5 separate regions of the Homo sapiens genome follow, and all the other regions are linked to region 1. The links are contacts of gene promoters, found by promoter capture Hi-C in blood cells and fetal thymus (Javierre and others, 2016). All regions are on one chromosome and are shown on one strand. Each heading gives the region's core, a stretch centred on a gene start or on the middle of the fragment in contact. The rest is flanking DNA. Distances are from core to core; before and after follow the strand shown. Region 1 holds the start of NT5C1B (5'-nucleotidase, cytosolic IB). Region 2 overlaps LINC00954 (long intergenic non-protein coding RNA 954). Region 3 has its middle 9.2 kb from the start of LINC00954. Region 4 has its middle 25 kb from the start of LINC00954. Region 5 has its middle 48 kb from the start of LINC00954.

Region 1 (5,353 bases), core at 1,815-4,314:
TCCCTGGCCTCAATGACTCTTAACTCAACCTGAACTCTTCTGTACTATTCTAACTCTGGTCTAGTCCTCACTTCTGTTTGGAGCATCTATGTGGGGGTCCACTTGAAAGAGCATCCAAAACCAAGATGCAAACATATTTTTTCACTGTGACTCCTCTTATGTGGATATTAGTATGGTTCACCATTGTTCCTCCCTTTTCCTCACTTCTTCCCTCGAGGATAAGCCTGTTAACAGATGCTGAAACAATATATCCACCATTTTTTACCAGACTGTAAAGGTGAGGGCAACTGGTGCCCCACTGAGGTTGCAGGGGGACTCTAAGGCAGCTGCTGAAAAGGAATGGAGCCCTCAAGCTTTTCTTTTAGGAGAAACAAGAATGAAGGACCCCCCGGAACAGCAAAGTAAAAGAGTTTCTATTTGCCATATTCTTCCCCTCACCCAGGTTGTCTGTGGTTCCCCTCCAGAATCGGTAGTGTGATCTCTGCTCACCCTCATCATGGTGATCTGCTGGCCCTGCTCCCACAACAGGCACATGTGAATATAAATACGTATTGTGTGGCAGGGGCCAAGGGCTGTTCCCTCAGCTGCACAAAGGCAGCGTCTACACGACGAGTGACCCTGGAAGGGGCAACATCTCAGCGAGTGATTCGGATTGACTGCACGCCTCATCTGAAAGATTGTGCAGAAAGTGGTCAATGCCATGGCCAGACCCCCTCCCCTCCCTGATTTGAACAAAGACCAGTCTCCCCCCTGTGTAGGCTGAGCAGAGGAGCCTGCTGTGGTTCCACACATTCGAAGTGAACACTAGGGTATGGATGGAGGGGAAGGCAGGGCCCAACCTTTCCTAGTTCCTTAACCTTCTCATGAGGACATTAGGGACGCCTTAATACAATTCTCAACAGCTTGGTCTTCTCTCCCAGAACTCCCTGCCCCCTAACATTTTCCATTATGCTTTCTGCTCCTTAATTTCCTCACCTCTGCTACAGAGATCAGCTCACCTGATTGCTCAGACGAACTCCTGTTTTGTCAGATTCCTTTCTTTTTTCTGCTTCTAGACTCTCTTTTGAGGACCTCATTCCAGGCTCATTCTTGACAAGGAAACAAAGAATGTTTATTAATTTTTAATCTCAGGGCATTAGGAACTTTGGCTTTCAGAATAAAAGGATAAAGAAAACACAAAATTTATTTATTTGCCAATATAAAAAGGTATAAACTCTAGACCTTAGTTTCCCCTGTTCTAACAAGCATGAGTAAAAGGTAACACATATTTTATTAAAAAGAATTATATAAACAAGTTTTAATATAGAAATTTGTTGGTTCATAGATTTGAGATATAAAGCATTTATTGTTTAAAGACTGATAACATGGGAAATATTAGAGAATTGTGAAGTTGTTTATGTAGAATAAGTTTGTTTTTTTTTCTATTACTCTGAAGATTGCTACTTATGGAACTTACTTTTCCTTGCCATTTAGAATTCAATTTTTTCTTGTTTTCATCATCACTACAGCTCAAACTTTTTGTGGCTCTAGCCTCACCAATATTAGTTTGATTTCTAAATATAAGGACCTTAATCTCATACAAATTTATTGAAAGTCATGTCTTCTGTTCCTATCATTTAATTACTCATAGATCTAGAGTGGAAAGGGATTTCTTACCAACAAATTAACAACAGATAGGGAAAACCAAGTAAAAGAGCACAAGAAGATGACTCACTTTATGGAACTCTACTCAAATATTTATGTTTTCATTTTCATTTGGAGGAGATACTTATTGGAATATTATTTGAACTGTTTCATGCTAAGTAAGTAGCTGCAATGTGATCAAGATTAGTGTTATTTATATGTTTAAGGAGCACAACTTCTAAGTTAGACCAAGATCCACTAGAGCAGTCTATATTCATCCGTTTATGCTCTGTGTCTTGCATGCAGGAAAAATCTCATCAATGTTAGTTGCATGAGAATGTTAGTTGCATGAGAGAATGGCATAGCTGTATGACTCCTGAACTAATTTTAAAATCTTTTCATCAACCCTCACTCACCTTATACACATACATAGCAGTCACCATAATACCTCTTACTTCTAATTCCAAATGATATTTTGAATCCAGTTCCTTTTTTCTATCTCTATTATCATTGCCTTGTTCCAGGTCTCTGACCATCCTGGGACTACATTTTCAGAATATAGCCTTTCAAACAGGTTTCATGGCCTTAAATCCTCTCCACTTCTAGATCTGTCCACCGTATTTATTTAGAGTAATATTTACAAGATGTAAATCTAGTAATGCTTCATTCCTGGATAAACACTTTCTTCACTTGGTTTGACCAGGAGCCTCATGATGTTTTCCTGTGTACCTGCTACTTGCATGCCCTTCACTCTATACTTTATCACTATGTTCTACTAATACCAAGTGACTTGTATTTGCCTGCATACACCAGCCTTATTTCCTTATGGTCTCCTCTTCTCTCCTGTGTTCTTCGAAACCCAGCTCAGTGTGACCTGGGGGAAGTTCCCAGAGTGAAATATTGCCCTGTGTTCCTTGTGTCTTTTGTACATACTTTTATGGAGCAATGAGTTGTCCTTTGTCTATTGTCTTTCCTACTAGGCCATGCATTCTTCAAAGACAGCCACTGTTTTTACCTTTTACTACTAACATATGAGTATATGCTAAATGAATACTGACTTATTGGAATCATTTATATACTACACGTTTTTTAATCTCTTTCTTTGCTGTCTTAATTTCTTTTAAATTTCTCCTTCTTCCCTTTTCTGTACTCTTTCCATTGCCTTTATTCTCTCCCTTCTCTTTTCCTCTACCTGAAGCCATTATCTGAAATTATTTGATCATTGCAGAGCCTTTGCAGAGGCAAATGATGGACTGATATCCACATTTCTTCAGCCCCATGGCAAGATTCTAAGACACTCGGTTCACTCACCTTTTTCTGTTTGAGAGATGTTTGACTCATTTTTTTACCTGTTGAAATTCTTTTGTTGTTATCCACATTTTTGTCTCCCCAGCTCCATTTCCTGTCACTTCCCTTGCTCAGTCTAGCTTTGCATTTAGAATGTCAAATTTATGACATCATATGTGATTCCATAGTAACAAACTGACTCTATGAATATGTGATTAACCTTTTCTTAAAAAACAAAAAATAAATGTTTCTTCATTTTGAGTGTATCTGCTCATAGCCATTGTCTTTGTTTTCAGAAATTGATGTCTAAACATTGTTCAAATGTTCAATATGTAGCAATATCAATATTACCACTTCCTTTTTAAATCTTTTTAAGCATTTCTCTGCCATTCATTATATTAATCCCATTTGTGACTGTCTGTTTCCTGGTACTGCCAAAATGAATGGCAAAGTCATTTGTGGATCCAATCATTTATCCATGTTCATTCTGCCAGACAGACTTTGGAGGGCTTTTCTCAGATCTAGAGACTATTTTTGACAGCTGGGATTTTGTTCCAGACATGGAGTTTAGACTTGAGTTTGAGTTTAGCTTTAATGTCTCATGTTTCTTTCAATGGCAAAACCTGTTGAGGAAGACACTGTCAAAGCCCCTTCCCCATGGCTAGACTCAGTGTAGAATGTTACCTTTGCTGCCCCATCCTTAACCCTTAACCCTGGGCTGCCCCATCCTTAACCCTTTAAACACTAAAGCTAAACTCAAACTCAAGTCTAAACTCCATGTCTAGAACAAAATCTCAGCTGTCAAAAATAGTTTCCAGATCTGAGGAAAGCCCCCCAAAGTCTGGGAGAGTGAACATGGATAAATGATTGGGTCCACAAATGAGTTTGTGATTCATTTTGGCAAGTAACAGGAAACATACAGTTACAAATAGAATTGATATTTGTAAAAAGTAGCCCCTAACTCTGGTTTACAGAATCTAAACATGTTCTCCATTTTAGTTTTCTCCTTTTATCTTCACCCAAGCTTTAGATAGGAGACATGTGCCATGCCAACCTGAGCTGGTGAAATCATCAAGGACTGAGGCAGGTTTCCAGCCTGTTTTCATGGGACAAGTTGATAGCTAAGGTTGAATATCGGAAGTTGTTGATGGTTTTAATTTAAGTTATCCAAGGAGTCTTTTAGTTAGTAAAACATTCAGGCTGTAGGTAAGAGTGCCTGGGTTTAAGTTATTTCATCTCTCCCCTACTCCCCACTGTACACCCAACCCCCAGCATTCTACCCAAAATTTGTACAGGGGTCATTTGTTTTTGCATGGTTATGATGTTATTGTGTAATATTTGTATAAGTTATGTAGACAATCAAAGTTGTAAGTGCTATACGTTTCAGAGTAACTTCAGAGAACCTTACCTTTTCTATTAAAATCACACCCCTAAGTACCAAGAGCATCTTTATTTTCTTAGTATGCTGTGTTTGGGGCCAGAGCAGCTAATGTGAATTTCATCTCATTGTAATTAGGTGTTTTATTTCTACTATTCAGGATTATAAACTCATTATGGCTTCTTAGCACTCCTTCGAGGGAGAGAGCAGAGGCTTCTGTTATAGGTTTCATGGGTAGGACTTCACTTAGGGAAGCCTGACATCCCAAATCTAGGGCTGTGGGCTGGAGTCCCTTCCTCCACAGTCTGGAAGCCTAGGCAAAAGCATGAACTGACCTGAGTCAGAGGTTTATGTGACTCACAGTTCTGCAGACTATACAGGAAGCATAGTGCTGGCATGTGCTTCTGGCGAGGCCTCAGGAAGCTTCCCAATCATGACAGAAGGCAAAGAAGGAGCAAATGTGTAACACGACAAGAGCAGGAGCAAGAGAGAAGGGAGGAGGTCCCAGATTCTTTTGAACAGTCAGATATCCTCGTAACTCATTACCATGGGAAGGCACAAAGCCATCCATTAGGGATTGACCTTCATGACCCAAACACCTCACACTAGGCCTCACCTCCAACATTGGGAGTCATCTTTTAACATAAGATTTGGAAGGGACAAATATCCAAGCCATGTAATGGGTTAAGCATGTTCTTGTCGCAAGACTTTTAAATTTGCTGCTCCATCTGCTGCAGCGGCCCATATATACACGTGCCTTAATTCCTTATTTTTTTAACTCTGCTCTCAAGCAGTCTCCTCAGAGAGGACTTCTCTGACTGTCACTAAAAATGATACCTCATTTCCTTCATCTTTTAACCCTTATGTCCCTTTATTTTCAATCATAACATTTATTTCAACCTGACTTTGTTTCACAAGAGTTTATTTGCTTATTGTCTTTTCTGGTCCCGCTGGAGCGAAAACTGCTTGTGAGAAGCGACCTATACATCTTTTCTACTGCTGCTTTCTTCTTGCCTAGAATAGTTACTAGGAGGTACTTCCATAAATATTTGTTGAATAAATACA
Region 2 (5,353 bases), core at 1,612-4,111, 1.3 Mb after region 1:
AAAAGGCCTCCAACAAGACTCTTCAGTCTTGCTATGTCAAGGCTGGACAATAAGGAGAATCGGACCCCAACCTGAGTCCCATTTACCCATCCTGTACTTTTCACAGGACTTCCCCAGGCCATTGGCACCTGTGACAGTGAGAACCTATACTTGGCCACCCCAGTAACTGACCTGCTCTCCTGTTGGAGCTCTACATGGGACACCAGCTCCCATGCATTTATCCCTTTTCAGACCTCACTGGTGAGAAGCTGGGCTTCTGGGTCCCCATGCTGCTTCATCCCACCTCCCAACCCTGTCTTCAGGCCCACTGCTGATCCCAGTCTAGAACCACAGCACCGCCCCCATCCTGCATGAAGAAGGCCTTGTGCATCTGCCTTGGTGAGATCTTTCCAGGCTGACTGGTCTGTACTCCCTGGGGAGATGATCGAGACCAGCTCACACTGCTGTGTGTCACATCCATACCTTCTATGGGAAAACTAACCCCCCTCGCCTCCTATGTGAAGTCTCAGGCTTCACAGCCCATTTCAAATGCTGTTTCTCCTATAACCACATAGCCTGCCAACCACTGGATCTCCTTTCTGGTTCCTCCCTCTCCCCCCAACTTTTTCCTTTTGAACTCTCATAATCAGAGCCATAACCATTTTCTGCCTTGCACTAGTTACTTGTCCTTGACTGTCTTTATTTTCCCTTCTGAGCTGACTTTCTTGAAGGCAGGGCCCCCAACCTGATCACCATGCCTCAGATAGTATCCAGGTTTTGCCTTCAGCCCCTCAAATAATACATATAAAAATGAACAAATTCCAATATTTATCCACAACCTACTTGATGGCCTAAAAATGCATTTTAAATGGGTGTGTCTGAGGTAACTTGTGAAAAGCCCTGGGGTCAGGAGCCAAGTCCTACCTCAAGGAGCAGCATAAAGGCTTAGCCCAGCCTCGTCCAAGGACTGCCAGGTAAAATAGAGAACAGACTTTGATCAAAATATGGTTGGAAACAGGATGGTTGTGAGAACTATGGTTGTGTTCCTAGTGTGTTTCCCTAGTGGGACTGTGGCCATCTCTTCCATGATGGCCACAGACCCTTCCATTGACATGTGCAAGGCCACACTGAAGGATTGCACCTGCAAGCCAACAGAGTCTAGCAGCAACCAAACCTTCTTCTGACTTGACGTCACCAGCCGTGGTACCTCAGTGAGGGTGAGTAAGGCAAAAGGGCCACCTGCTCCTGCCAGGCCTTAGCATACCATCTAAGCTTTTTCTTCTCAGTCCTGTGGTATTGTTCCATTTTCACACTGCTGATAAAGACATACCTGAGACTGGGCAATTTACAAAAGAAAAAGGGTTAATGGACTGACAGTTCCACATGGCTGGGGAGGCCTCATGATCATGTCAGAAGGTGAAAGGCATGTCTCACATGGCAGCAGATGAGAAGAGAAGACTTGTGCAGGGAAACTCCCCTTTAAAAAACCATCAGATCTCATGAGACTTATTCACTATCACAAGAAAAGCACAGGAAAGACCTGCCCCCATGATTCAATTACCTCCCACTGGGTTCCTTCTACAACATGTGGGAATTGTGAGAGCTACAATTCAAGATGACATTTGGGTGGAGACACAGCCAAACCGTATCACCCATGTTCTCCATATGCTCTAAAATCTTGGGTTATGTAGTTTGAAGGTGACTATATTATATATGAAAAGGGAATCATGTATGAGAAGGAACCCTTGCTATGAAGGGCTGGCCCACAATTACAAGATATCCAGACTACAGGTGAGATGGCCACTGTATGAATGGAAGTCAGCTGTGCCCCTGAGCTTCATCTCACTGTTGTCCCCACCCCTGTCCTCAGGAAATTCCAGCTGACTAGGGAAGAGAATGCCAGTGTATAGTTTGCAGCAGGAGGAACTCAAAACATCAGTGACAGTGCCCCAAAATGCTTCAGTTTCCATGTTCTCTTTTTCATTTTTTAGGTCCTATTTTACTTCCTTACCTAATACTTATTATATTGGAGGTATGATGTAAATTGGAGTAATACTGACAGACCTTCTTCTTTGATAGACTAAGCAGTGTTGCTAGAAACAAATCATTGCATAACTAAATCATGATCCACCATGCACATAGCCCACCAACCAATGGAGAAGACCAGCAGAACAGATAGTAGGCTATCTCTTCCAGCCTCAAGCCCCAATGCTGTCATTCCTAAGTTGAGACGTTGAAGTCTCTTTGCCTCCCTGGTACAGAGTCTGTTTGCCTTGTCTTGTCCATGAACCAGAGTTCCTTCAAGTCCTTTCTTGCTCTGCAGTTCTACAAACCAGTGAGCCTGCTCTTGCCTCCATGCTTGTCCTAGGCTGATGCTGCTCTGCTACTACTCAGTTAAAGAAACATTGGCCCAAGAGGACAGGCACAAGGACAGGTGGAAGAAGAAAGCTGTCCTGCCACCAGGAGATGGCATGGTGGTATGGCAGTCCCAGGTCCGAGGTCAAGGAGTGGCTGGGGAACAGAGGGAGAACTTTGAGTATTTCTGCCTGGGTGCCCTCAGCTTGACATTCTCTCATTCAGCAGGGCCTCAGAGAGAGCAGACAGACACTGGAGATCCAGGCAAGAGTAGCTCAAGGTAAGGGTGTTCTGGAGTATACTTTGGGGGACAAAGGGCAGAAGAAGAAAGTTGTCCATGAGTTCACCAAGCCCTTCCTCTCTTAAGATGAGTCGTTCATTGAGTTTCACCATGGGGAGATGGCCATTGTGAATCAGCCATAGTCAACACTCTTTGAGGTAGAACTGATGAGCTTTGCAGATGCCTCAGCAGAATTACTCCTGGACAAGTGTTGGGTGTCAGAGTCACCAGAATTTGATGGCAGCCCCCAGTGGAACATAATAAATAGGTACATATCCTCAGCTAGCAGCTGAGAGGGCAGAACCAGAACCCCAGTCCTACCAGATATAGCCCAAGATTCTGTAAGAATATCTTACATGCTAAAGCAAGATCCCCAAAGTGAGGACCTGATATGGTTAGGCTGTGTCCCCACCCAAAATCTCATCTTGAATTATCCCCACAATCCCCACTTGTCAAGGGCAGGACCAAGGGTGGAGGTATGGGGGCAGTTTCCCCGGAGCTGTTCTCATGATAGTGACTCTCACGAGATCTGATGGTTTTATAAGTGTCTGACATGTCCCCTGCTTGCACTCACTCCATCCTGCCACCCTGTGAAGGAGGTGCCTGCTTCTCCTTTGCCTTCTGCCATGATTGTAAGTTCCCTGAGGCCTCCACAGCCATGCAGAACTGTGAGTCCATTAAACTTCTTTCCTTTATAAATTACCCAGTCTCGGGTATTTCTTTATAGCAGTGTGAGAAGGGACTAATACAGGACCAAATCTCCCAATAGATCTGAGTCTACCAAATGAGACTTCCATCACTTCTGTGCAGCTTCTCAGTTAGGAACTTCCCCTGACTTCTAACAGCCTCAAGCCCCCGCCCCAGTCCTACTCATACTTCCTCATGTATAAGAAAGGGTCAGCCAGTCCTCACCAGTCCTCAGATAACTACTGGAATGGACACAAGGTTTCTCCAGAGTGCCTCACTCCTTGTTTGTCTCCAAATTCTTCCTGACAGCTGCAAAAAAGAGAATAACCTGCTAGAGGTAGACTTTTACCCTGTCTCCCAGGGTGAGAAGGTCCAATACCCCTCATTGGTCAAGAAGCTGGTGAAGTTTGTGGCACCCAGATTCAAAGAGGTGAGATCTCAGAGAACCAGAAAGGGCTAAATAGGAACCTAGATTCCTGTTTATATGGCCAGTATGGGGACACTGAGCAAAGTCCCTGGGAGCCCCAGGTCCCAAGTACTTCCTAGGCTTTTATAAAGAGATCTGGATGACATGTCCTGCTTGGTGACTTGGCATCAACGTTTAGAAGTCAAGTCTGACAGATGGCAACTGGTAACCAGATTAAGCATGGAGGGTGGGGACAGGGCAGCCTAGCATGAGTGGGACCCTAGCTGATCCTCTGCTTAGACAGTTGTTGACTCTGTGACCTAAACAGGTCATGTCTCCTTTTTGAACCTTACCACCTTCTGCAAAATGGAGCATTAACGTTAAAGTCACTGAAGACTTTAGAAGTATTGATAAAGCATTCAATAAGTAGACTTCCTAAGAGGAAACGAAACTGACTCATTCCTGATCAACACCCTCAGAATAATCCCATTTCATGCCTAGATGCAGGAGGAAGCTCATTATCTTCCCCATCCCATTCTCACACTTTAACTCCTCCTCTCCTCCTCTTGTCTCCTTGAAGAAAGCCTGCCCTCTTACTAAAGCCAGTTGGGAAGAGGTCCCATAAGGCTTTTGTCTTAGGAAAAAGTGTGGGTGGGAAGGAATTGTTGTTGGGTCACTCTTGGTTTCCCAAGGCCCTGAGACAGGAACTTCTGTTCCTGCTAGAACAGAATGGCCTCTGCCCACACCGAGCTCGAGATGCTGTGGAAGCTTCCAGATCCTTGGCTCCTTAAGGTTTGTCCTGCTGTAATGCTCAGTCTTCTGCTATTCACCCACTTCCATTCTCAGGTGTATCTGTACCACCTGACCCAATCCTGCCTACACTTGGACCCTGACGGGCATTGTGGTGGCCAGTACTATCCAGAGGAGAGAGAAGGAGGTAAGAGCAGGCCCCTAGCCACGTGTCCAGTAGCAACACTGAGAAGTTCTGCCCCAAAGGTCCTGCCCATAAAGTTCTCTGCACTTTCCCCCTCCATCCCTCCAAACAAACTCACCCTTCTGAAAGCTGCCTCAAGTCCTGACCAGATGGCACCCTCCTGCAGAAGTCCCTGAACAGCAAGCACTCTGCATGTCATGCCTACATCTCAGCCTGAGGAACTCTTGAAGAGGCCTTTCCTCCAGAGCTGAGTGAGCTCTAAGAGCTCTTTGGCCAAAAACCCCTGGCTCTTGCCCATCACACTTGCCTAGTGTCTGGCTACGATAATTTTCAGGCATTTTATGAAACATTTAACAAGTCTGATTACCCTTCTAGGAGACAGTCCTAGAATAGAGGTCATATGAACATAGATCTTAGTCCTCCTGCCTCAGTGAGTCCCTCACCCCATACACACCTTGAACTCAGGCCAGAAGAGAGCACTTGACCATCTGGCTCTGGTTCCAGTGACTCCAGGACTTATATGCCCACAAGCCAAAAGAAGATCAAGATCTGAGTGGGAACTGTGGAAAGCATGTCATGCGAGCCCCTGCCGCCCTTGAAACTCTGCGTTCCTCCTCCTCAAAGAACAGTGCCTGAAGGTCCTGGCTGTGGCCCTGGCTGGCCATCTTGCTTCCTGGTCACGGTGGTGGCCACTGTGCTGGTCCTGTCCAAG
Region 3 (5,353 bases), core at 1,608-4,107, 1.3 Mb after region 1:
GACTCTAACTTTTGAACTTTCACTGGTTTTTACTCATTCACTGCTGGCAACATTTCAAAGGGTAATTTTTTTTTTTTCAAATTACTGTTAAAGGAAAATGAGAAAACAATTCTTTTCTTCATCTGTCTCTTCCCCTCGCAATAACTTTTCAAAATATTGGTTCTTCAGGCTCACTTTACTCCCCAAACAATTTTGCCTAAAAACCTGCAGCCCCTGATATTGACATCTTCTCAATTTGCATAGCACCCGTTTACATAATCAATCAAACAGAGTAAAGCACGCATCCTGTCTGAGTTCACCTCTTGGCCCCTGGACAGGATCCGACAATACAGGCCCCATCACAAGGACAACTCAATAACCCATTTTATCGACTCCAACCGCAAAAGGGAAGTTAAGGTGGACCCCGCTGCGTGGGGAGCTCCAGGTCAGCTTTCATAGAACACAGATGTGCCCCCACTTCCCTGTTCACTCCAACCAGAGGAAATAATGTAAGAACAACATCAGGAAGATAGACTCAGCAACATTCCCATGCAGTAAAACAAGGCTCCCTGCCCCTGCAGGCCTCCAGACCCCATCTCCTTCCATCAGACCCCAGAAGAACAAGTCGGGGAGGGGAGGCGATACTGCCCGGCTCCTGATGAAAGTCTGGGAGCATCAGCTTAAAGAACATTTGGAAAAATGCTTTGCAGAGTAAATATCTCCCAACTTCAAACTACTGCTGCCCAGTGTCCAGGAAACCAGAAAGCCCATATCATGGCATGGTTGGATCACAATTATTAAAAACTGCACACTCCATGCCTTTGACGGGGTAGCCAGAGTCCCCAAATTAACAGCAAATCCAAACAACCCAAGCATGGATTGGCATCTTCAGAACAGCGCTGGAGTCTCTCGTGCCACGTAACACACTGCAATTCCCCACTGGCGGGAGGAGCGTGCCTCCTGTGTCCTCTGCCGCACCGGGACAGCAGCCACCACCACAACACTAGCAGCTTCCAGAGTCCCAGGGCCACACGCGACAGGTGAAGCAAGCCTCTCTGTGAGGATGGCCCTTTGCTCTGCTCAAGGAAGGAAGCGGTGCCTGAGCAGGGAACCTTCCCCATCAGCTGTGCATGCAAGGACTGTCCTCAAGACCCGCTTGTCAGAGCAGTGACTCATCCCCGAGTCTCCAAGAGTGAGGCCGATGGGGCTGGCAGAGGAGTGGCCCTGCGATTTCAAAGTTTCGCCTCCTCTGACCCTCCTTCTCACACTAGGTTCGGCTACAGATGAGGGAGCTCAAAGTTCTGTTCCTTCCGATGTGTGGCTAGTAGGGAGGGTCTCAGAAGGGGCTTGAGGCTTTCCTTATCTATCCCAGCAACCAGCACCTGTGGGGCCCCTGGCTCCAAAGGCTGGGCATGGATGTAGGTGAGGAGGGACATTGTTCTGGAAGGAATGGAGGCATGCAGCTCAATCAACCTCATCCAGAGCAACTTTGCCAGAGGCAAGGTGGATTCTTACCACTGTAAGAGCTCCTCTCCGGTCTCGGTCTCGGGAGAGTTGAGTCTCTGAGCTGTTTATGTAGCAGAAAGACACTTAACCACAGGCAGGGCACACGGGAGACCTGAGAGCATCCTCTGAAAGCCATTGTCTGGAAATGCAGGCTCTGTCCTCCAGAAACGTGCCCTGCACACTCTTCAGAAATGTGGGCAAAGCTCCCTGAGGAAGGCAGCCTCAGGGCTTCGTTGGCTGAGAGCAAACACTAAGTCAACTTGATCTAAGTTGTTCTCCTCCAAGCTTCAGTTTCTGCCATCTGAAAATCTTGTTTGGAGTTTGAAACAGGGCAGAAGCGGAGACACGGGGATCCCAGTGGAGGCACGAGATGGACCAAGGGCTCTGCACTTGCGGAGAGGCCCTGGCCAGGTGCGCCCAGCCCTCACCCCTAAACCTACCTGGTGTGAGCCACCAACAGATCCTCAGGAGGGAAGCTGGTAGCCCCGTCAGGCCGCCCAGGCCAGGATTCCTGAGAGGCAGCAGCCAGAGCTATCTCTAGAAGTGGCGCTTCCTGTCTATCCCTCCATACACAGGGCAGCAGACAAAGCTGAGCCCTCTGCTGAAATGAACTGAGCCAAATGCTGATCTTTATTTGGGGGGCATCTTGTAAAAATATTAGATCCAATTGATGCTCTGCTCATGAACAAGCTACAAAGGTGACCTTGGAGGGACTTTTCTCCCACAGGCCAGGAGCAGCGACAGCAGCGGCTCTCACCTTCACCACCTGGCTGCGCTGCATGCAGGAGGGGCCCAACAACCCACGTGAAGGAAAAGGAGGTAGGAGAGCCACTGGATCCTGAGCCCCGCCGGAATCCGTGGCCCATGGCGCCACTGGGAAAGATCCAAGGACCACACGCCCAGTGTCCAGCAAGCCTCAGCTCCTCCAGTGGGCATTTCCAGAATCCCCAAGGCTGCCCGAGAGCCCCTTCACTTCTGCTGTTAATACACAGATGTCATGAAATGCTGGGTGACCTCTAAGGAAGGGATCCGTGCACCCACACTGCAGACGCAGGGGAGCGGCCACAATGGTAACAAGTGGGTGGGCAGGACTGTAGCCCATTTCTCCTGCCTCGGCCAGTGTTCTTTCTCACACTAACCACAAGTGTGCATGCACACGCACATACACATAGGCACACATGCTCACACGCATAAGTACATGCTCACATGCACACACACACACAGGCTCTCTGTGAGCAACAGGTCCACGCACTCCCTGGTAACCGGTTACCCGCAGCTGCAGGCTTCTAGAAGAACAACCACTCCCTGGGATTTTCCTGGGAGGGGAGACGTAAGATCGAGGTTTGGATCCCCACACTCACCACACTCACCACACTCAGATCGCCTTGTTGCCGTGTAACCGCAGTCCTCTGACCCTTGATGACTCTCAAAACCGTTCTTGTCATATAATACATGAACTATGCATAAACAATTCTGGGTTATGATGTGTTTCCTAAAACTAAGAGAACTTCAGCCATAACACTGACATTTTGTTTCTGGAAATTAAACCCTGGGAACAGTGAAAATAAAGTCCCTCAATTTATGAATTGTATTTCCGTACATACTTCAATTCCCAGTGCTTGCGGTGAAAGAGAAACACGATTGTGTTTCTGATGGCGTAGCCACTAAGACCAGAGGGCCTGCCCCTCCTAGGTTCTCCACTTCATACCAGGAAGCCAGGCTCTCCAAATAAGGTCCTCACTAACAACCTGGGTGACCTAATACTTCAGGAAATGACGAGAATAAACCCAAGCAAGATGGATTTGCCCATTGCTCTTGGGAAACAGTCACCTCCGCCTCTGCCCTGTTCCTGGCAGGAAGGGGCAAATGCCTGGGAGATGCTGAGACAAGTTTGCCAAGGCCTTGGCAGAGTCCCCAGGCTGGCATCTCAGTATGAACCTTGCCAGTCCTGGGACTTCTGCAGGCAGAAAATGTGCACCCCCAATGCCCAGCAAACTGTGGGCCCTGCAGATGTGTGCTGGGCTATGAACAAGGGTTTGGGGGAGGTTGAATGATTATAATTGCCAAGTGAGGCGAAGATGGATCGGATTCTGGTGCAGAGAGGAAGGTTGAGAGAAATGGAGGAAGGTGAAACCAACAAGAAGTGTCCGGACACGCTAGCAGGATTTCAGCATACAGAGCTAACAAGATGCGGGGGTGAGATACACATACAAGCTGGAGAGAATGGGGGCATGGGCAAAGGTGGGGGGCCAGAGAGGCTTGGAGTAGAGAGGGAAGAGTGGGAAGTTCAGTCAGATGCAAGCCCTGGAGATGAGCAAGGGAGTTGAGAGGTGCGGACGTGGCCCCTAACATGAGTACATGTCAGGTGTGTTATTTCCCTGCATTGACTGCCCTCCTTCTCCTTCCTCCAGGACAAACCCTCCATCCCCACTGGCCCTGCTCAAACTCCGCCTCCTCCAGGAAGCTTTCCCTGAACTGCTCAACCGGCAATGAACTTCTTCCTCCCTTCTCTAATTTCTATAGCACACCTCAGCCATCAGTTCAGGGCCACCACAAGGTGTGCACAGGCATCTCACAAGTTTGCAGAAATGCCTTCGTAGACTGTGTTCTTCTGGAAGAAAGATCACTTTGTACACATGTACCTCCCTGCAGTGTGGCTTAACCCAGGTCCAGGCACACCAAGACTTCAGGAGGGGCCCACAAACTCAGAGGGAGGCTGGCATGGGAGCAGGACAAACCATCCAGCCCCACACCCACCCCAGCCCCTATCCATGACTCCACCAACCAGGACTCTGCCTGCCTTCCCAGCCCTTGGCACAGGAACCCCAGCTTCTAGCACCTTCTCCAAGGCTCCTGCACCCTGCCTGGAAGGCAGCCCCTCGCCCCCAACCTCCTCCCAGAACTCTTCAGTTCCCCACACCACCAGCCTTCCACAGCTGAAGGCCATAGCTCATTAAAGCCAGACGTGTAGTGCCCCGTGCCACATTTCCTGGGCCTCAGCACTTCCACAGAGCCCCACTGCCAGGAGGCCACATATTCAGCCCCAGGGGCAACCTGTCTGGTCAGGGAGGCTAAAAGCAGCCCTATCACAGCGAATGAGCAAGCCCACTCTTACAAAACCAGAGTGGAGCCATGGGGGCATGGGGAGAAGAGGCAGGGAGTGCTGGGCAGGGCTCCCATCTTGGTCCTTCCTACTGAGGAGGGAAGTGGGAAAGTGGGCTCAGGCTACCACTGTCAGTGGGGATGGTGGGGGTGGCCTCCAAAGAGGACACCTGCCTGTGCAGAAGCCAGAGCCAGTCCTGGGCCCCTGAGTCAGCAGCAGAGACACAGAAAGAAAACATGCTAACTTGTTAACTGAGTGACTTGTAATGGGGACAAACATTCACATTACAAAATAATCTCCATTTGGCAAAAGGGCCTCTTTAGGAATTAACAAACTCCTCTTTGAACATGTAAGTGTCCTAGAAGAGCTAAGTGAGGCTGTTCCCTGGAATCACACTACCCAGGTGTTAGTCACTCACCCCTTAGTGTGAATCAGCTTGATCAGGCTGTTTTCCTGCTGCCTTCTGCTAGAATTCAACTTTCTGAAAAAATAGATCTGTTTGGGAAGTGATGCAGGCTGGGTCATTTTGGAACACAGAGCACAATACGAGTCTTGGAAGCAGTGGGGAGAGAAAGAGGAGTTGTTCAGCCAGAGGGCCAAGTAAGGAGACAAAGGAAAGCTGGGGGTCACAGTGGGAGGCTCAGGAGGGCAGAGTCCAGGGGCGGGAGCAGCCCCCCAGGCGTGGGCACTGGATTTGCTTGCTGGGGCTGCCGCAACAATGCCACACAGACGGAGCAGCTTAAACAGCAGACGTGCACGGCCTCT
Region 4 (5,353 bases), core at 725-3,224, 1.3 Mb after region 1:
CAAGGGGAGTGGTGGTGCACTGTCATTGCATCAAATAACAGCATAACATCATAGGGTGACCCAACTAAAGCCAAGCTGGAATTCACAGTCTTTCTGGCCACATGAGTAGAAGTCTGGTCATTGCTCTTGGAATCTGTTTAAATGAGCTGGTATACACGGAAGCTTTTTAGGAGTGAAGGGATGCAGAGACTCCTGGGGAGACAGATAGTGTAAGGAGGGGAATGGGAACCATACCAGGGAATGGTATGGTGACTGTCTCTCCCTCCAGCCCAAGACAGGGGTTCTGGATCTCTGTCACTTGTAGCCAGAGTTCTAAGTAACACACTTTATCAGTTTGCTAGGAGGGGTATAATGAGCGAATGGATGAAAAAAGTCTTCATAAATAACAAATGTTGTATTACTTCCAAGTCACATTTGATGGTCTGGAAAAAACACTGAAGGGTACACATAATGGTCACTCAGTGAATATCTATTAAATGAATGAATCAAACTGGCTGAAGGAGGAGGAGGAAGAAGAAAAAAAGGGAGAAGAAGAGGAAAAAGGAGGGAAGGAAAGAAGAATAAGAGTGGGTAAGAGGAAAAAGAAGGAAGGGAAGGGAAGGGAAGGAAAGGGAAGGGAAAGGAAAGGAAGGGAAGGAGGGAGGGGAGGGGAGGGGAAAGGGAGGAGAAGGAGAAACCCACACACAGAACTCACTGTATCTGAAAATTCTAGGGATAGGTCTAAATTCAGGCATGGCTGATTCAGGCCCTCAGAAGCTGTGGACAGGACCGTATCTCTCACCAAACTTTGGCGCTGCTTGTCTCTGTGTCGCCTTCATTCTCAGGCTCTGTCTGAAGTAGCAATGCTTCCACCAGTGGCTCTCAGTGAACATCCTACCAGCTTAGCACCCTCATGGCCCTTTCCTCATAGCTCCAATAGAAGTTCCATGATTGATTCTGATTCACTGACTTGAGCCATCTGCCCATTCTTGAACCAATTACTGTGACCAGGGAGATGGAATAAGCAGATCGGCCAGCCCTGGGTCACACGTTCACTCTGGAGCAGCTTACAGGTGGGTGGGGGTCGGTTGCTGGTCCCACCTGAACTGCATGAAATGAGCATGGGGGAAGGGGATTTCGCCCAAAGGAGAGCTGGGGTGCTGCTTGTTGAAGTAGAAAAACGAGGTGCTGGACATGCAAAAATCACAGTCTCCTACGTTCCTGTGTGATACCAAGACTGCTTCTGCAGCAGAAAAGGCAGAAAGAAGGGTGGGCCCTTAACTTCCATAAGCGATGCACTCTTAGATGTCTATGAACTATAGAGTCAAGGAAATTCAAATGTTTGTACCAGATCCAGGCTTTCTCTTGAATCACAGGTAACTGTTTTTCCAACTTCCATTAGTTTTCTCTCATTTGGGGAGCCATTTTGAACCATTAGAGAAGCTGTTAAAATGGTTTCAGGAGATGCCTGGTGTTTTCTTATAGAACTCCTGGTAAATTCATTTACACCATTGGAGTGAGTCCCTGCTGAATTCAACATTCCTTCTTCTAATTTGTCCAAAACTTCAAACGCTCATTTTCTTAACCCACCCAGTTTCTCTATACATCTATCTCCAGCAATAGTTTTTGGCATTCTTTAATGGTCATTCCTTTTCCCACTGGAACCAAGTGTTGAATCACCTCATAGCAGTTACAGTGTCCATGACGATGAACAGAGAATGTGAAAGTGGCTCTGAGGTGTGGGCAGCTTGCTGAGTGCTAAAGGTCTCTGAGAGAGACTCCTGTGGCCTTTGCCTCTGAGGATCTACTCACCCTTCTGCTGATAAATGTATTCTCTCCTCCACTCTTAGATCCTAGGTTTTGGTGGAGCTTCTCACCATAATTAGGGCTGGAGCCTATAATGTAAGCCTAAAAACCAACTAGATTATCACAGCTCCCCAGTCACAACAATTAATTTGGGACTCAGTCAGAAATAATGAGAGGCAATGAGACACTGGCAGAATTTTCTGGGAAAGAGACCGCTGCTATTAATATTTCCTGCTGGACTTGAATCTGAGGGAATATCAGGTTGGGAGCTAAGGCTGCCATTTAGTACCCTGAGAGACGGATCTGGCCTCCAAATGGAGTCAATCCAGAGGAAGTGGAGTTGAAGGTGAGGAAGAGGGAGAGACGAGAGAGAGGCTAGACCCTGGTGACATTGACTGAGTGAAGTGCCACCTGAAACCAGCCCAACCTCTGCCTTTTAAGAGAAGTGAGTTGATAAGTTCTCTTTTTGCTTACCCTGGTTTGTGCTGGGATTTCTCTCCCTGGAGAGCAAAAGTTACCAAGTAGATGCAACCCTATTGTATTTCAATACCCTCTCAGTCCCCACCAGCCCATGGGTTGACATCTGGTCACATTAACAACAGCACAATGGAGGCTCTTAGCTTCCATGCACTGCACATGGACTCAGCACCCCTCCAAGTCTCTCTCTCTTATTTCTTAGTGAAGATTTCACCAGTGGGTGTCTTATATGTTCAGGAACAATTTTGGTCATGTTCTTTCCTGACATTCTCTTATAAAATGACTGTGGCCAGAGGAGTGGGATGAGACCACTGACCTCATTCTGATCATGAGCAGGGCTGGGAGGAGAGTGAGTACAGCTGGCAGCCTCCATGAGGAGCACTCAATTCACATGGAGGAGAGGCCATCCATGGAGAAGAAGGGAGCACTATTGCCAGAAGAACAGAGAAGAGCGAGCTAAACACACAAACAAGGGGGCCCGCCATGGGTAGAAGGGCAAGAAGTGCTGAGACCACCCACTGATGAGGACAGGAAGGCCTGGGGGAGGGAACACATGTGCCAGTGGTCACTGGGTGAGAAGGTAGTGGGGCTCAGACTCAAGCCCAGGGGACCAGGGTGCTCCCCCTGCTCACCCATGCCTTTGCTGGAGAGCCATGAACAGTTTAGCAAGGGTCAGGAATGTGTGAAAGTTCACACTGCCAGTTCTGCCCAATCCACAGTCAAGTTCAAGTGTATTCCTGGATGGGGAGCAAAGGCAAGATCTGTCTGACAACACCAATTTCCCCCAACCTGAGTGCCAGCCCCCAAGGCTCCCTGCAATATAAACTGCCATGGAACACTGGCCTTAGACCCCTGCAGGCTTCCTACCCTCAGAAACAGCCATTCTATGGAATTACAATGTGGGGCAGGCTTGATCCAAACACTCCTGACTCACTGCATTGCAGCCATGCCCTGTGGGCTCTGATCACACAATTCTCTCACTCTTGATGAGCTTATTCCCCTGCTCCTTCATACTTTCCTCTCTCCCATCATCCCGGAATTCCCTTGCTCATTTCTATAATCTAAAGTCTTTCCTCTTCTTTCTCTAAGATTTTTCTTCTTCAAACCCCACCCCAACGTTCAAATCTGAGACTTCTCAATAGAAAGAACCCCAAATTGGAAGCAGGAGGCATGGGCGAAGGAGCCAACCCTGGTGCTGCCTCCTTGGATGACCTTGAGCCAATTCCCACACCTCTCTGGGCTCCAGCTTGCTCTTTCCAAGGCATTGCAGGCAAACGCTGGGATTCCCCATGTCATCTGGCCCACTATGAGCACAAAAGATGCCCCGTCTTCCACCACCCCTGACCCCAAGCCTCTGTCCCTCACACCAGGGCTGCCTTCTGTCCCCAGGTTAGACCTGAATGATGGGAAGAGATGTTCTTGCCCCTGGAGACCGGGCAATCCAGGGCTGTTTCTGTTTTAAAAATAAACCATATGATTCTTTCGGATTTGGGGGTTGAAGAGCAAAAAGAAAGAGGATATAAGAGAAGCTTCAGGGGTGATTGCCAAAAATGTTTCCCACCCACCAATTTCTTAAACTAGGAGCATCTCAAGGGGGAGCTGACCACATGGTCTTGATTTACTAAAACTTCACTCATTAGGCTGGTATCCTTTCAAGCATATTGGACAGCTAACAGGCGAGAAGCTTTTCAAAGCCCCTTCCCCTCCATACTGGGGCTGGCAGGGGGCCAGGAGGGAGGCCCCAGAGCAGAAGCACTTGTGCAGCCACCCCCAGGGCGCTGTTCCTGCTGGGTTACAATCTCCCCACTGAACCAGAAGAAAGCTCTACTGAGGATCACACATGGCACAGATGTGGTCACACATGGCTCCAAAGTCCGAACGGAAGTCTTGGCACTGGACCCAGGTGTGATGGACACATGTGTGCCCAAGGGTATAGATAAGAATATGGGCAGGACCACACACAACCAGCCCCCTATGGGTGTCATCTCCCCACACAGGCACACATGTGCTCACACACACACACACACACACACACACACATACACACACAGAGGCAATGGTCCCCGCATGCTGGAGAGGCACATCCAGAGAGCTCAGTCTCTGCCTACAGCTAGAACATCTTGGACTTCCAAACTCCTTGTAAATTAGATGTTGAATCTGTGCACAGGCTCTTGCTACACACACTGAAAGACAGCAAAAGCATAAACCCACTGGAATCTAGCACCAAAATGTATTTTCCACCAAAGGATCTTCATAAGAATATTCTTTTCTATGAGCTGATGAGAGGCCATATTTCCTGAGTTCTGGCAGAGACCTGCCTGAGTATATCTTCTGTCCCATCCACGAGTGTCTGCACCCCACATATCCAGCCTAGCACAATTCCACTCACAGGCTGCAAATCAGCACATCAGCTCTGTCCTGGGGACACAGCCTCGCTGGCAGAGGATTCCTAGGGCTCTGTGGGGCTCAGTCTATACCCAACACTGTGAACACCAAAGGGTAAGCCAACCAAGGCATTCCCCAGAGACACCTTGCTTAGGGAGGTGGCGCAGTGCCAACAGGGAAGCTGAAGTTCTTTTCCTGATTGGGAAACATGCTGATGGTGACAGCAGAAAGAGTCAAACCCAGCAACTGATTGTTTCCCAGGCAAGAAGCTCCAGAATATGCTGCTGTCCAGTCGGAAAGGGCTTGCTGCCTCCCTAAACACCTTCCAGCTACATTCACTCTCAGAAAAACTCAGGGGTGAGATTCATGGATGATGGCTCTGAAAAGGGTGTGGTCCAATATGAGTTTCCAAATGGGAAGCAGAGGCTCAGAGAGGAGAAGGCAGTCCTGTTCAAAGCAGTGCAGAGCTGGGCCATGAAGCCAGGCTAGTCCAGCAACTGAGAGCACAGGCTTTCAGGACACGTAGTCCTGAGGTCAATTCAAACTCCACTGTAGCCAGGAGTTAACACCTACTTATCTAGGACTAGAATTCTTATTGACAAGAACACCACTAACTCATGGAGTTAAGTGAGAATTAAATGAGACACTACATAAAAGAAGCCAGTATGCAGTAGGAGCATAATAAATGCTGATCTCTTCCCCTTCT
Region 5 (5,353 bases), core at 1,795-4,294, 1.2 Mb after region 1:
CACTATGAATGGTGCCAGCAAGTCCCGCTGGAAGCCGAGTCTCCTCATGTCCTGATTCTGTTCTGTCTTCAGACAGACTCAGAGGGGAACATGAGCATGAAACACACAGCAATGTGGCCATCAGCCAGGGACATCAGAGCCCAACCCACTTCTTCTTGGGGTGAAGACAGACCTAGCATTGACAGCAGAGGGAGGTGTGATTTCCCCAGCAAAGTCCAGACTTCCTCACTGGGAGCTTTAGAAACCTCCAGGTGTGAAGGTTACTTAATAGGTGTTGAGTATAGGATCAGGGATCCATGAGGCCAGGAGGGTCAAAGAAGGAAAGGGAGCCTGGGCTAGGGAATGGCCTGAGGGTGAAGGACCTCTCCCCACCACCTTCATTTCTGGACTATTTGATGAAGGAAGGAGCAACCATTGCTCTTCACTGGTGTCGGCGGGAGGGGGGAAATACAGGTCTGGGAGATCTGCCTCTGATTAGCTGAGTGGCTCTCAGCAAGCTCCTTAAAAGTCCTGGTTTGTGTCACAGTGGAGGGGAGGTGATGGAGGACAGGCAGTCCTCGGGTGATTAATGGTGTCTGGGTTTCCACCTCCAGAATTAGTGCTCTAACTCTCTTCTGAGAACTGGATGCAAGAGTCTTTAGCTGGAGAGGTGCTCCCTTTCACTCCCCACCCACACACCCTGCTAAGTGCAGAGCCAGGCACACAGATTTCTCCATCAACAGCTCTTGGATTGATGAAGAAAAGCCTTCTAAAGGGAAAACATTGTTTTTCCTTGATTAGGGTGGGTTAGCAATGAATGAAGTTCCAGGACCCTGAATTCCAAATGGCTTCTCACTTGGGTCAGGTGCTTTCCTTGGTGGTGTTCTGCCTGGGGGGTCTTCTCCTGAGAACAAGGCCTATACCTTCTCCTGTCTTACCCTCTTAGCCAAGAACAGGACCAGACACCAGCTGCGTACTAGGTGAAGCTCCGGGGTGGAGGGGCATACATAGATGAAGGGATGGATAGAGACACTGAATGTGTTTGTGAAAGAGCACCCGGCCTCTGTAGACCCTGCCTTGGCCTGAACTGGATTTCCCTGTTCTAGTCATCACCCAGCCTTTGCTCTGCAGGGAAATATATGGGTGAGCGGAGAGCCACACATACTTCCCCAGTGAGCTTCAGCTCGCCCCCTCACCATCAATCTCCAGGAGGCTGGCTCCCCAAGTGGCTCATTGTTTCTGGTTTTATCTGAAACAAAAATAGACTCTTGCAAACATTCCAGTCTTGAGGTCATCAGTTCATAGGCCTCATCCAGCCCTGGCTGATGTTCCTCCCTCGAGCTCACTGAGGACACTGTGGCTGCCTAGGCACAGCTGGCTTCATTGCCATTGTGGCTTATTCAACACAGCATGTTCTTCCCTCAGGCCTTTTAGATGGTCCTTGGATATGAAGCTGTTCACAGACAGCAATGCCAAGCACTCAGACACCTTAAATAGCTGCCAAGACACAGACCTCCAGGGCCAATCATGTCCCTTTTGGGGAATGACTCAGTTACCACTCATGAGAGCCATCATGACTTCTCAGGGCCCCCAGGGCATACTGCATGGACAGGGCTTTCTTCCCATAATTCATTCCATGCTATGGGTGTTTGTCTATGTATCTTGCCCTGTCATTGGAGGGGAAGCTTCTGGTGGGTAGGAGCCAGGTCTGATTCAGCCCCAGGACCTTGCCAGGGAATATAACCAAATTCCTTCCTAGACAATTTTGTTAAAAGAGGCCGCATCAGGAAATATTTATTTATTTATTTATTTATTTATTTATTCATTCATTCATTCATTCATTCATTCACTCATTTACGGAAGGATAGACTAAAAGACACCCACTCATGCTATAGATTCTGGAATGTTCATGTTAAATTCGGCCAGGTCGTCAAAGCTGTTTGTCCAGCCTGTATCCTTTGACCACCACCTCCCATTCTTTTTTCCTGACTTGGATATTGTCACTGTGGCCCCTGCTTGCACTGGGAACTGGTGTGAGAAAGAGCCATTGGGAGACACTCCGATTGAGTTTTGGAAGGAAAGCCATCCAGTTCTTGACACATTGCCCCACTGTTGTCTAAGATTTTTCCTAAGAATCTGGTTTGTTATTATCCTATGGGTGCTGCTACTGCTCAGATTTCCCTATTTGCCTTTGCTGCTAAGAAGTTTATAGACTAATTGGTGGCCCATCGCTGGGAATGCATACACAGGATTGCAGTTTGAGGATTAATCTTACCTCCAACATTTTTATTTTCATACCCCTATTTTCCCTTTGCCCAACCCCCTATATTTTATTGTATCTTGCTGTTTATAAACTGCCCCAGGTTTGAGACCAGTTGAGGTCTAAATTTATTAATTAATAGATTAACTTATTTTAAAGTGTTATGAGGCCGGGCACGATTGCCTGTAACCCCAGCACTTTGAGAGGCCAAGGCAGGCAGATGGTTTGAGCTCAAGAGTTCAAGACCAGCCTGGGCAATGTGACAAAACCCTGTTTCTACAAAAAAATTAGCTGGGTTAGCTAGTTGTGGTGGCACACTCCTGTAGTTCCAGCTACTCAGGAGGCTGAGGCAGGAGAACTGCTTGTGCCCAGAAGGCAGAGGTTATAGTGAGACAAGATAGCGCCGAGATAGCGCCTTTGCACTCCAGCCTGGCCAACAAAAGTGAAATCCTGTCTCAAAAAAAAAAATTTTTTTTTAATTTTTTAAGTTTTATCAATGAGGGTAGGTGAAGTTTTGCTACATAATAAATAATCCCAATATCTCAGTGGTTTAACAACACGAAGATCAATGTGTGAATTTATTTACAACACTCCCTTATTTATTTCTAATGCAGCATTGCTAGGAGCTATGCTCCAGGCCATCACCATTAGAGGTTGCAACCTGACATAAACTTCTATTTGACATATGCTTCCATGATCACTGCAGCAGAAAGGGGAGGGTAAGCATGCATTGGCTCTTAAAGATGCCACACATTACTTCTGCTCACCTTTCACTGGTCCAAGTATGTCATATGGCCATAACTGATTACAAGCAGAGCAGAGAAGTACAAAACTACCATCCACCTGAAAGGTGGAACACCAGAATATTCATGAATTCTGTTCATGGCAAACACAATGCAAGCACAACCATATAATATACCATTCAAATTGGGACACTTTTGAGAGTGGAAGGAGGATCTAACAGTAAGAAAAACTAAATAATTTTCTTAAGATTTATGTGTTGCCTTGCAAATTGATTATTTTATTGATAGACCATAAAATTATTCTATTCAAAAACTAATTTCAAAAATAAAATTTCTGGCCAGGTGCAGTGGCTCACGCCTGTAATCCCAGCACTTTGGGAGGCCGAGGAGGGCGGATCACTTGAGGTCAGGAGTTCAAGACCAGCCTGGCCAACATGGTGAAACTCTGTCTCTACTAAAAATACAAAAATTAGCGGGGCATGGTGGCGGGCGCCTGTAATCCCTGCTACTCAGGAAGCTGAGGCAGAAGAATGGCTTGAACCCCGGCAGGTGGAGATTGCAGTGAGCTGAGATCGCGCCATTGTACTCCAGCCTGGGTGACACAGCGAGACTCCATCTCAAAAAAAAAAAAAGTAAATAAAATTTCTTCTAAAACTATAATATAGACTTGTGTACATCAAGTCAAAAAAATATGTTGTAAAGATGTCAACAATAGATACTGGGGACTACTAGAGGTGGGAGCAAGGGAGGGGGCAAAGGTTGAAAAACTGTTGGGCTCTCTGCTCAGCATGTGGGTGGCTGGATCATTCACACCCCAAACCTCAGCATGACTCAATATACCCAGGTAACAAACCTGCACACGTACCCCCTGAATCTAAAATAAAAGTTAGAAAAAAAAGTTTTAAACCCATAAAATAAAATAAAATTATCCTTTCTTTTCCAACTAGGAAAAGAGACAGAGATTTTGGAAATTGTGAAGAAAAAGGACTTTCTACTCAACAGAAAAACTGAAAGAATATAAATAAATAATCACTGACAAGGAAATATAGTTAAGCAATATGAAAAATGCCCAACTTCATTCTTAATAAAAGAAATGCAGATTGAAATTTTTTTTAAAAATTTAATCTCTATGTTGATCATCTGAACATTAAAAAATAATGTAAAGAGAATAATTTATGTTTGATATGGATTTGCATATTTAATTCTGTTTCCTAGACATATCACCCTCTAATATTGTATCACCAAATTTTTCGAAGATTGTAATTTTTTCAAGCTGATCTTATCATTTTAGACTTTGCCATAAAATTGCCTGCAATTTTCTTCAAATTGCATGTTATGATTCATATATTTGAAGTCATCGATTCTTTGAATTGGCCCTTCTTTGTAGAGCACAATTTTTTTAATTGAGAAAACATTTTGCCTCCTGGTATTGAGATATCTGGAAAGCTTGGGGAAATTTTAGTGAAATTGAGGATATTGTCCATTTTAATTATTTTTCATATTTGAAAAGAGTAAATATTTCACTTCAAGTATTTTCACGGATACTTTCCTTTTGTCTCAGAGTAGTTTTCTTTGCCAAAACATGTCAAATAAGTTGTCTCTATGATTCTTTTGAGTGGTTCACCAGTTTTACATGTTCGAGATCATAGGCCTACTCAATTCCATTCCACCACATTGCGGAATACAAATTTACTGAACTACCATGTGAGCACCATCACAAGATTCACCCCATAAATCAAGATATTCCAAAGCACTTAGAAAATTTGAATATTAAGTGTGGCACACCATTTTATCTCTTGTGATTTTTTTTTTCAGCTTCTCCCTTGCTTTTGTAGAGAGAAATCTCAGTGTCTTCCTACTTACAGGGCTTGTTTTTAGTAGTCACAATTCAAAAAAAGATTCATAAGCTGATGTCTTAAGATGAATCACTTACTTAATTTTGGTTAAAATCTCCAGCTGGTTTTAAACAAAATGAACCAAAATTTAGAGAATTTGTTTACACAAAAGCTCTACAACATTTTAAGACACAAGTTGATTCACAAAGTAGTTCTTCAAAAATTCAAAGATTTCTAAAATCTGACTGATAATAGGCAGGAAAGAGAAAAGTGTATACTGTCATGCTAAACTATTATTTCGCACTCAAAATCAGTTTTGTCACAAAATTTTGTAGTTCAGTTTTCTGAGTACATATAAAATTACTTAATTTTTTACAACTACACTTTCTAATTCAACTGATGGGGGAAAAAAACGACATTTGGAAACAGTTATTAAGTATGTGTGCACCCAACCAACTTCAAGTACATTCTGAGTCTATTAATATCTTAATTTAGTAAGAAAGTTATTTCCTCTATAACACTGTGTTCTACCAAAA

Evidence for each region. Contacts are between HindIII fragments. The CHiCAGO score rates a contact against its expected background, and 5 or more counts as called.
Region 2: a contact is called between a fragment that was not itself captured here and the fragment with the promoter of NT5C1B in region 1, in 1 of 17 cell types (naive CD8 T cells). The highest score is 6.1, in naive CD8 T cells.
Region 3: a contact is called between a fragment that was not itself captured here and the fragment with the promoter of NT5C1B in region 1, in 8 of 17 cell types (total CD8 T cells, activated CD4 T cells, naive CD4 T cells and 5 more). The highest score is 14.4, in total CD8 T cells.
Region 4: a contact is called between a fragment that was not itself captured here and the fragment with the promoter of NT5C1B in region 1, in 9 of 17 cell types (activated CD4 T cells, naive CD8 T cells, monocytes and 6 more). The highest score is 12.8, in activated CD4 T cells.
Region 5: a fragment that was not itself captured here is called in contact with the fragment with the promoter of NT5C1B in region 1 in 2 of 17 cell types (activated CD4 T cells and total CD8 T cells); the score reaches 5.6 in activated CD4 T cells.

What each region holds. Positions count from the first base shown.
Region 1 is chr2:18,586,505-18,591,857 of GRCh38, forward strand. NT5C1B (5'-nucleotidase, cytosolic IB) reads right to left here and starts at 3,065. Exons shown (of 9, transcript NM_033253.4): 1 at 2,935-3,065; 2 at 999-1,088. The coding sequence starts at 2,964. It overlaps NT5C1B-RDH14 (NT5C1B-RDH14 readthrough), which reads right to left and starts at 3,065. Exons shown (of 11, transcript NM_001199104.2): 1 at 2,935-3,065; 2 at 999-1,088; 3 at 490-669. The coding sequence starts at 2,964. The region is part of intron 2 of LOC105373456 (a long non-coding RNA gene); the gene reads left to right. The HindIII fragment of the contact is 3,581 bases long and covers 352-3,932 here.
Region 2 is chr2:19,879,005-19,884,357 of GRCh38, forward strand. It overlaps LINC00954 (long intergenic non-protein coding RNA 954), which reads left to right. Exons shown (of 10, transcript NR_033875.1): 7 at 232-1,196; 8 at 3,611-3,731; 9 at 4,554-4,644; 10 at 5,146-5,353. Among named protein-coding and RNA genes, the nearest start is that of LINC00954, 13 kb to the left of the region's middle. The HindIII fragment of the contact is 3,224 bases long and covers 1,250-4,473 here.
Region 3 is chr2:19,856,963-19,862,315 of GRCh38, forward strand. No RefSeq gene overlaps it. Among named protein-coding and RNA genes, the nearest start is that of LINC00954, 9.2 kb to the right of the region's middle. RefSeq lists an enhancer at 5,255-5,353. The HindIII fragment of the contact is 2,179 bases long and covers 1,769-3,947 here.
Region 4 is chr2:19,841,428-19,846,780 of GRCh38, forward strand. No RefSeq gene overlaps it. Among named protein-coding and RNA genes, the nearest start is that of LINC00954, 25 kb to the right of the region's middle. The HindIII fragment of the contact is 3,629 bases long and covers 161-3,789 here.
Region 5 is chr2:19,818,204-19,823,556 of GRCh38, forward strand. No RefSeq gene overlaps it. Among named protein-coding and RNA genes, the nearest start is that of LINC00954, 48 kb to the right of the region's middle. The HindIII fragment of the contact is 2,764 bases long and covers 1,663-4,426 here.